Linked DNA regions of Homo sapiens: region 2 is linked to region 1. Evidence: promoter capture Hi-C in 16 types of primary human blood cells and fetal thymus (Javierre and others, 2016). All regions are on one chromosome and are shown on one strand. Each heading gives the region's core, a stretch centred on a gene start or on the middle of the fragment in contact. The rest is flanking DNA. Distances are from core to core; before and after follow the strand shown. Region 1 holds the start of TMSB4Y (thymosin beta 4 Y-linked). Region 2 overlaps UTY (ubiquitously transcribed tetratricopeptide repeat containing, Y-linked).

Region 1 (3,813 bases), core at 363-2,862:
TCAATATTACTGTTGAGTGCCTACAAAAATTATGCTAATGAAACAATATGGATGTTACAAGGCTGAAAGTTTCTCTTTTAAAATCACTGAGGGTTGCTTTACCTTCTGCCAAAGGCAAGAGGAACGCCAGTGAGGAAGAGGTCCGGGGTGGGGCGCATAGGCCTCCACTGGTCTGAAAGCTGAGTCACAGGAATGATATCCCTGTAGCTGACCAGGCACTCCAGGGAGGGACACCGCGCCTTTGCGTGCGTATGTCCTCAGTAGGTAAAGCCAGTTTCTCAGTAAAACAATGCCTGTTACCCTAGGTATTACTCCGACCCTTAAATAATATGCACCAGTCCGCAAGAGCAATTTTTACGCTCCTGTTGTAAAAGGGGAAAATGCGTTTTGAAGGAAGTGTTGGAAGGTGCTTTGCTCATTTTATCTTTCGCCATCGTTGTGGTTAGGGGGCAATGGTGCACCTAGGGTGGCGTTGGGGCTCCCCAACCGCCCGGCAGCTTTCAGACGCCCTTCCGAGACGTGGAGCGAAAGACTTAAGCGGGCCTGTGGGTGACATCAACTCATTTACATAGGAGGGCTATAAAGTAGCGCCTGCCCATCCCGTCCTGGCAACTCCGCGGTGGACACTGTGTAGACTAGATTTCACTCCCTTACGCGCCTGGCTTAGGTAAGCCCCAGGGCCCCTGCATCCTTACTCCTTCTACCCTCCCCTTCATGCCGCGCTTGCCCCTTCATTATTCGCGTCCCTGTGAAGACATCCCCTAAAGCCAAGCCGAGTGATTATCCCCGGGAAAGCTGCCTTGGGGAGGTGGGGATGCGAAACACCCTAGATGCTGGGTAATGCGGTGGGGAAATCGATGATTTAAGAACAAAGCAAATAAACCGGCGTTTATGTACTGCCGCTCGGAGGGTTCGTGTTAAAATTTCTTAGTGTGCCGAGGCGGGCGGATCACGAGGTCAGGAGATGAAGACCATCCCGGCTAAAACGGTGAAACCCCGTCTCTACTAAAAATACAAAAAATTAGCCGGGCGTAGTGGCGGGCGCCTGTAGTCCCAGCTACTTGGGAGGCTGAGGCAGGAGAATGGCGTGAACCCGGGAGGCGGAGCTTGCAGTGAGCCGAAATCCCGCCACTGCACTCCAGCCTGGGCGACAGAGCGAGTCTCCGTCTCAAAAAAAAAAAAAAAAAAAAAAAAAAAAAAAAAAAAAAAAAAAAAAAAAAAAAAAAATTTCTTAGTGTTTGCTCTCAAAGGTATTGTGCGTTGTCTTGGAGGCTGAGATGTGGGAACAGACAGATCCTTTGTTCTGAGGCTCACTCATCTCCCGAGCCCCGAGCCGTCTCCCAGCCTCAGACGGCTCTGCGGGCTGCATCTGTGCAGCCTGGCAGCGGCGGCGCTGCGCTGTGACATTTTCACAGCCCTTCTTGCAGAGGCATGTGTGCTAGGGATGCCGAAATGCCGAGAGCGCCGGCAGGACTAGCTTCCGGGCCGCGCTTTGTGTGCTGGGCTGCAGTGTGGCGCGGGCGAGGAAGCTGGTAGGGCGGTTGTCGCAAGCTCCAGCTGCAGCCTCCGCCTACGTGAGAAGACTAGAAAGCGGGCGCAGGACCAGGCCTGCGTTGTTTGCAGAGAGGCCGTGGCTACAAAATGGAAGTGCTTTTGCGACCTGGGCTCCATTTTAGGAATTCTTGCCCGATTTTAACCACTTGAACGCGGAAGTGGCTTTCCTATTCTCTTCCAAGCCAGCCTTTAATTTTAAACGCTGTAATTAACAGTTCACAGGGGTCAAATTCCTTTATTCCGGAACATTCCACTTTGAGAGGGATCTGTCCTCTTTGGTCCCCTGCGTTTTCAAATATTTGAGGAAAGGTGTCGCCTCTTTTTCTGTGGAAAGAGGAAGCTCATGAGCGCGAAACAGCAGGGGACGGAGGGCGAGAAGGGCTTTCTCAGGTTGCGGGTCGGAGGGCAGAAGCACAGTTCCCAGTACAGAGACCCGGACAGGTGGCTGTTTCTCACGCTCACTTTGGATTGCTCCCTACGGCTTCCTCCGCAGCCATGTCTGACAAACCTGGTATGGCTGAGATCGAGAAATTCGATAAGTCGAAACTGAAGAAGACAGAAACGCAAGAGAAGAATCCATTGTCTTCCAAAGAAAGTAAGCTCCGATCCTCCCCCATCTTTAGAAAGGCTGGAATGCGAGCGGGCGGTGGGAGGGCGGGAGACTGGGAGCTGCCACGGGAAGAATTCGGGAGGCAGGGGAGGGCGCTCAAGGAGCAGATAGTTGGTGAATGTGGCTTGCAAAGGTTAATTAAAAATCAGATAACTTTTAGTGCAGTAATCCCAACACTTCGGAAGACCAAGGCGGGGATCACCTGAGGTCAGGAGTTCGAAACCAGCCTGAGGAAACCTCGTCTCTACAAAAAATACAAAATTAACTTGGTTTGCTGGAGGGCGCCTGTAATCCCAGTTACTTGGGAGGCTGAGGCAGAAGCATTGCTTGAACCTGGGAGGGGAAGTTGCAGTGAGCCCAGATCCTGCCACTGCACTCTAGTATGGGTGACAGAGGGAGACTTCATCTCAACCAAAACAAAAACAAACAAAACAATAGGGCGATCCTTAAGGGGGAAGGTTGCATGAACACAGGGTTCATTAATTTAATAATGCAATATTTAATGCGCTATAATAATATACAAACACATTTATCACTGAAAATGTACGGCTATTTAATATACTCAATATACATTTTTTATTTGATTATGACATGCCTAGCTAGGTACACTTGCAGAACGTTTAGGATATGACAAGATGTTGCAAATGAAAGCCCCTTAATTCCATATTAGGCTGTACTGAAACCCCTTAATCATCCCATCCATATTAGGCTGTACTGAAACCCCTTAATCATCCCACTCCATCTTTTTCCTTTTCTGTTTTTTTCTGGTCGCAGCTATCGAACAGGAGAGGCAAGCAGGCGAATCTTAAACAGGCATGTGCCACCAATATCTACTGTACATTCTACAAGCATTGCTTTCTTATTTTACTTCTTTTACTTGTTTAACTTGGTTAGATGCAAACACGTTGGATGAGTTTGAAAGGACTATGCTGCCCTTTTGACATCAAAGACCTGCTGACAATGGAGGCCACGCCTGCTTCTCCCATCGCCTGTCTGGCTGGCAGGGAAGGAAAATAGCTTGAATGTTGGTGAAAGACTTAGCGGAGTGGGAGGGCAGTGAAATCTAGAGTAAAACCAAGTTGGGCCAAGTGTCCTGCAGAATCTAAAATGAAGTTTAATCAGCGTGCCATTTTTGTTGTTGTTTGAAAGATTTTAATTTTTGGAATGCACAGTTTTTATTTAAAAAAGACATTTTTAAACCACTGCTTGTGAGATTGCTTGTTGATTGGAAAGAGTGTTTTATTCACCATTTAAACGTTTGCAAAGTGGCGTGCCCCTTGGCCTCACAGGCAAAGAATAACTTAAAAGCTGACGATTTGAATAAATTATGTTACAGTATGAAATATGTTTTACCTGGATATGTAAAATACCTTCTTTATTCTAGCTAATTGGGAGATGATTTTTTTTGGCTAATTGAGATTACCTTTAGATTATGTTTTCAAAACTGGCTTATACTGTAATCTACAACTAATAAGCACTAATTTAGAGTTCAGCTATATTGTTGCATGTAGTGAGAAGGGACTTAATTACAAACTTAAGACGTAAGTGTGCAATAAAGTAAGCTAAGAAGAAAATATGCTTCTAAGACCTGTATTTACTTGGTTTATATTTTCCTTAGCTTTTTATGTAACGTTTTATCTGTGGTCACA
Region 2 (3,813 bases), core at 500-2,999, 270 kb before region 1:
GCACATGGAACATTCTCCAAGACAGACCACATATCAGGATACAAAGAAGTTCTAATACATATTTAAACAATGAAACTATATGAAATAACATCTCAGACCATACTGGAATACAACTAGAAATCAATACAAGAGAAATGCTGGAAACTATACAACTACATATAAAACAGCATGGACCTGAATCTGTGGAAGGAAAATAAAATAAAATAAATAATAATAAAGTTGAAAATAATAAACATAACATAGATAATAGTTAACATTAAGTGTGGTTATTTAGAAGTTATACATAGGCTAAGAAATTTAAGCAGCCCCTCCCAGCATTGCTAACAGGTTGCAGCTGCGAGCTTATCTCAACCTTCCAAGCTTATTGCCTGCCTCCAGACCCCCCGCACATTCCTGTCGTTCCTGTTTTCCCTTACCCCAGCTCTGTCCAGCTTCGAGCCTGACTGGTCAAGATAACTAAATTGTAAGCTTTCTCAGAATTGTCACAGGTTAAATAATTTACTGTCTTTGTCTGAAACCGGTATCCTGCCTTGTTTTCCCGCCTCAAACAACATGTAAGCAAGCCTGCATTCTTTGTCAGGGTCGGCAGCCATTTTGGGCGTGAGCCTACTGGCTCAGGTGCCTCAATTAAAGTTGTTTTTGGTCTCCAAAGGTCTCTTTGTCTTCTTTGGCTGAGTTTTACTGCGACATTTTGGAGAGTTCGACAAGAGGAGAGAGAGGACAAGCTACTGTCTCCTTTGACTGTGGGACTTGGGCCCCGGGGTCGGGGGAGACCCAGTTCTTAGGCGCGCCGACCGAAGAGTTTTCCAAAAAAGGGCTGGGTTCTCCCACATCCCAAGGCCCTGCCCCTGATAGCGCAGGAAGGAGACCGCAAGACAACTTTCAGCGCAGTGAAAAGGAATCACGGTAAGAAAAGAGGGCCCTACAGAGTAAGAAAGGGTGCCTTACAGGGACAGACACAAATCGTGCCCTACCAGGCGGGTGGGGCACTGATCACCACTCAAGGGTTGTCTATTAGCCTAACCCAGAAGGTGAATGGGGGCGGTGAGGAAAGGACCTCACCACTCATGTGACATTCAGCCCTGAAGCCGGCAGCAGGGTAGAGCCTGCTGAGCCGGAGGGAGCAAAGAGAAAGTGAAACCGTGAAGTCACCAGTGTGAGTGAACTGTCCCAACTGGGAGTGTGTGGGTACGTGTGAACCCACCCAGGACACGAGACAGACTCGTTTCATCTGATGAGGAGTCCTGGGGACAGGAGTTGTGTACGAATGTGTGTGAATGTGGGAGCCTAACTAGGCTCATCAGCTGTGAAGCGTGGGGGCCGCAAGTCTGTTAGAGTGGACTGTATGCTGTGAGTGAAATGTTGGACCCAGGACGACTAGAGGCGAACTTCCTTTGGGGCTACCGCATACAGCTGAGGGAGGTGGCCCCACAGTCTAGGTATTGTGGCAGAGAGTAACAAACTCTCCAAAGTCAAGCGGGGTCTGGCGTCTGAAACACCCCCACGAGGGAGACAGTCTAATCGGTCCGAAATGAAAGTGAGGGTCATTGCGTCGTGCGGGAAGAAATGGGAGGAAAAGAACCTAAGGAATTAACCCCCACTCCTTTGGAGTGCATGCTAAAGAATTTCAAGGAGGGATTTTCTGGGGAATATGGAGTAAAGCTGACCCCCGCCAAAGGTTAAGAACTCTTTGTGTAATAGAATAGCCTAGTTTGGGCATTGGTTGGCCGCCAGAGGGCACCCTTGTTTGGAAAATCACCAGCAGGGTGTTTCAAATAATAACAGGGGCAACAGATCAGCATGGACACCCAGATCAATTTCCATATATTGATTCCTGGTTAAATATAATCCAAAATTGCCCTAAATGGCTAGGAATCTGCATGGCTGAATATTGTAAGACCCTAGTCGCCCGAACTGGTCCAAAAGGGATCAAAAAGACAGTATCATGCAAGCCTTTAGAGAAGGAAACTAGGAAGCAAAAGAGACACACACACACACACACACACACACACACACACACATCTTACAGGCTCCTTTGGAGAAGCTAGAGAATCCTTCTCCATATGCCCTTCTCTACCCATCCTTAGCAAGGCTCAGATAAGAGGAAGGGCAATTGTCTCCTGAAGAAACAAGCTCAGAAAGTAGCGGGGCATCTCCACAGCAGGAAGAAGCTGCATCCTTGCCACCTAAGACTAGGAGGGAAAAACAGGATGAAGAGGCAGGGCAGGGCGTCTTAGGTCCAGTGGTTCCCGAGCTCTGCAAATGCCGCTCAGAGAGACGTGGGCACAAATCTACCTTGATGATCAAGGGTACAAGGTGGAGAACAAACTTACTCTTATCTCCCCTTCTCCACTACTGACCTTTTAAACTGGAAACATCATAACCCATCATACACAGAAAAGCCACAAGCAATAATTGATACGAGAATAATCTTTTCGACTCATAGTCCTACCTGGCCAGACTATCAGCAATTATTAGTAGTTTATTTAGCACAGAAGGAAGGCACAGAGTGGTGCAAGCAGCCCTCCAATGGCTAGAAAACAATGCCCCTGAATGCATAAATGATTCCAGGCAGTATGCGGAAGCTCAGTTCCCTGACACTGATCCAAATTGGGTCCCAAACAACCCTGATCATTTAGAATGCCTACAGAGGTATGTGGATGCACTCCTAAATGGGGTAAAGTCAGAGGGAAGAAAAGCAATGAACATAGGAAAAGTTTCAGAAGTCCTCCAAAAGCCCGATCAGAGTCCCAGCCAGTTCTAAGAGCAGCTGTGTGAAACCTACTGGCTCTACATCTGACCCACAGGCAGCTGATAACCAGAAAATGGTAAATACTGCCTTCGTTAGCCAGTCACAAAGTGACATCAAAAAAAAAGCTCCAAAAATTAGAAGGATTGCCAAAGAGGCATGGAGGAACTCCTCAGTGTCTTAATGAATGCTGGATATAAAATTTCAGAAAAAAAAAAAAAAGGTTTGCATCTGTTGTCCTAAAGTTAAATATTTAGGTTTTATAATAAGCAAAGGACAAAAGAAGCTTGGTAGTGAGCGGAAAGAGGCCATGTGTACACTCCCTACAGGTACCACAGGGCGCCAAATCAGAATTCTTAGGTGCAGCAGGGTTCTGCCGCATTTGGATCCCAAGTTTCTCACTTTTAGCTGAGGCTCTATATAAAGCTACAAAGGGGGTTAAGAAAGAGTCCCTCTTCTGGGAGACGGATCAAGCAAAAGCATTAAAAAAAATCAAAAAGGCCTTAACATAGGCTCCCAGATCAGACTAAACCTTTCTTCTTCTACGTGGATGAAAGAACAGGGACAGTAGTAGGAATTTTAACACAAATGCTAGGATCATGGCATAGACCTGTGGCCTATTTATCTAAACAACTAGACACAGTGGCATTAGGCTGGACACACTGCTTTAAAGCAGTTAACGGCAACTACCTTGCTGGCCCAGGAGGCTGGCAAATTAACACTAGGACAGAAGTTAACTTTCAGGTGCCACACACCGTAATAACCCTGTTAGACCAGAGGGGGAATCACTGGTTGTCTATCCAAGAATTGCTAAATATCAAAGACTGTTACTTGAAAATCCTAATATAACTGTAGAAATAGGGAATACCCTAAATCCAGCTACCTTGCTGCCTACAGAAGAATCAAAAGAATTCCCATCACATTGTTGTAAGGATGTAGTAGATAAAGTGTTTTCAAGCAGGAAAGACTTAAAAGATCAGCCTTTTGAAAACTCAGACCTAGACTATTTAACAGATGTAGCAGCTTCATTTCAGACGGAGTTTACAGAGCCAGGTATGCAGTAG

Evidence for each region. Contacts are between HindIII fragments. The CHiCAGO score rates a contact against its expected background, and 5 or more counts as called.
Region 2: a contact is called between a fragment that was not itself captured here and the fragment with the promoter of TMSB4Y in region 1, in 1 of 17 cell types (activated CD4 T cells). The highest score is 5.3, in activated CD4 T cells.

The regions. Positions count from the first base shown.
Region 1 is chrY:13,702,287-13,706,099 of GRCh38, forward strand. It overlaps TMSB4Y (thymosin beta 4 Y-linked), which reads left to right and starts at 1,613. Exons shown (of 2, transcript NM_004202.3): 1 at 1,613-2,149; 2 at 2,939-3,738. The coding sequence starts at 2,050. The coding sequence ends at 2,973. The HindIII fragment of the contact is 16,122 bases long and covers 1-3,813 here.
Region 2 is chrY:13,434,984-13,438,796 of GRCh38, forward strand. All of the region lies in intron 4 of UTY (ubiquitously transcribed tetratricopeptide repeat containing, Y-linked), which reads right to left. Among named protein-coding and RNA genes, the nearest start is that of MIR12120, 42 kb to the right of the region's middle. The HindIII fragment of the contact is 2,567 bases long and covers 467-3,033 here.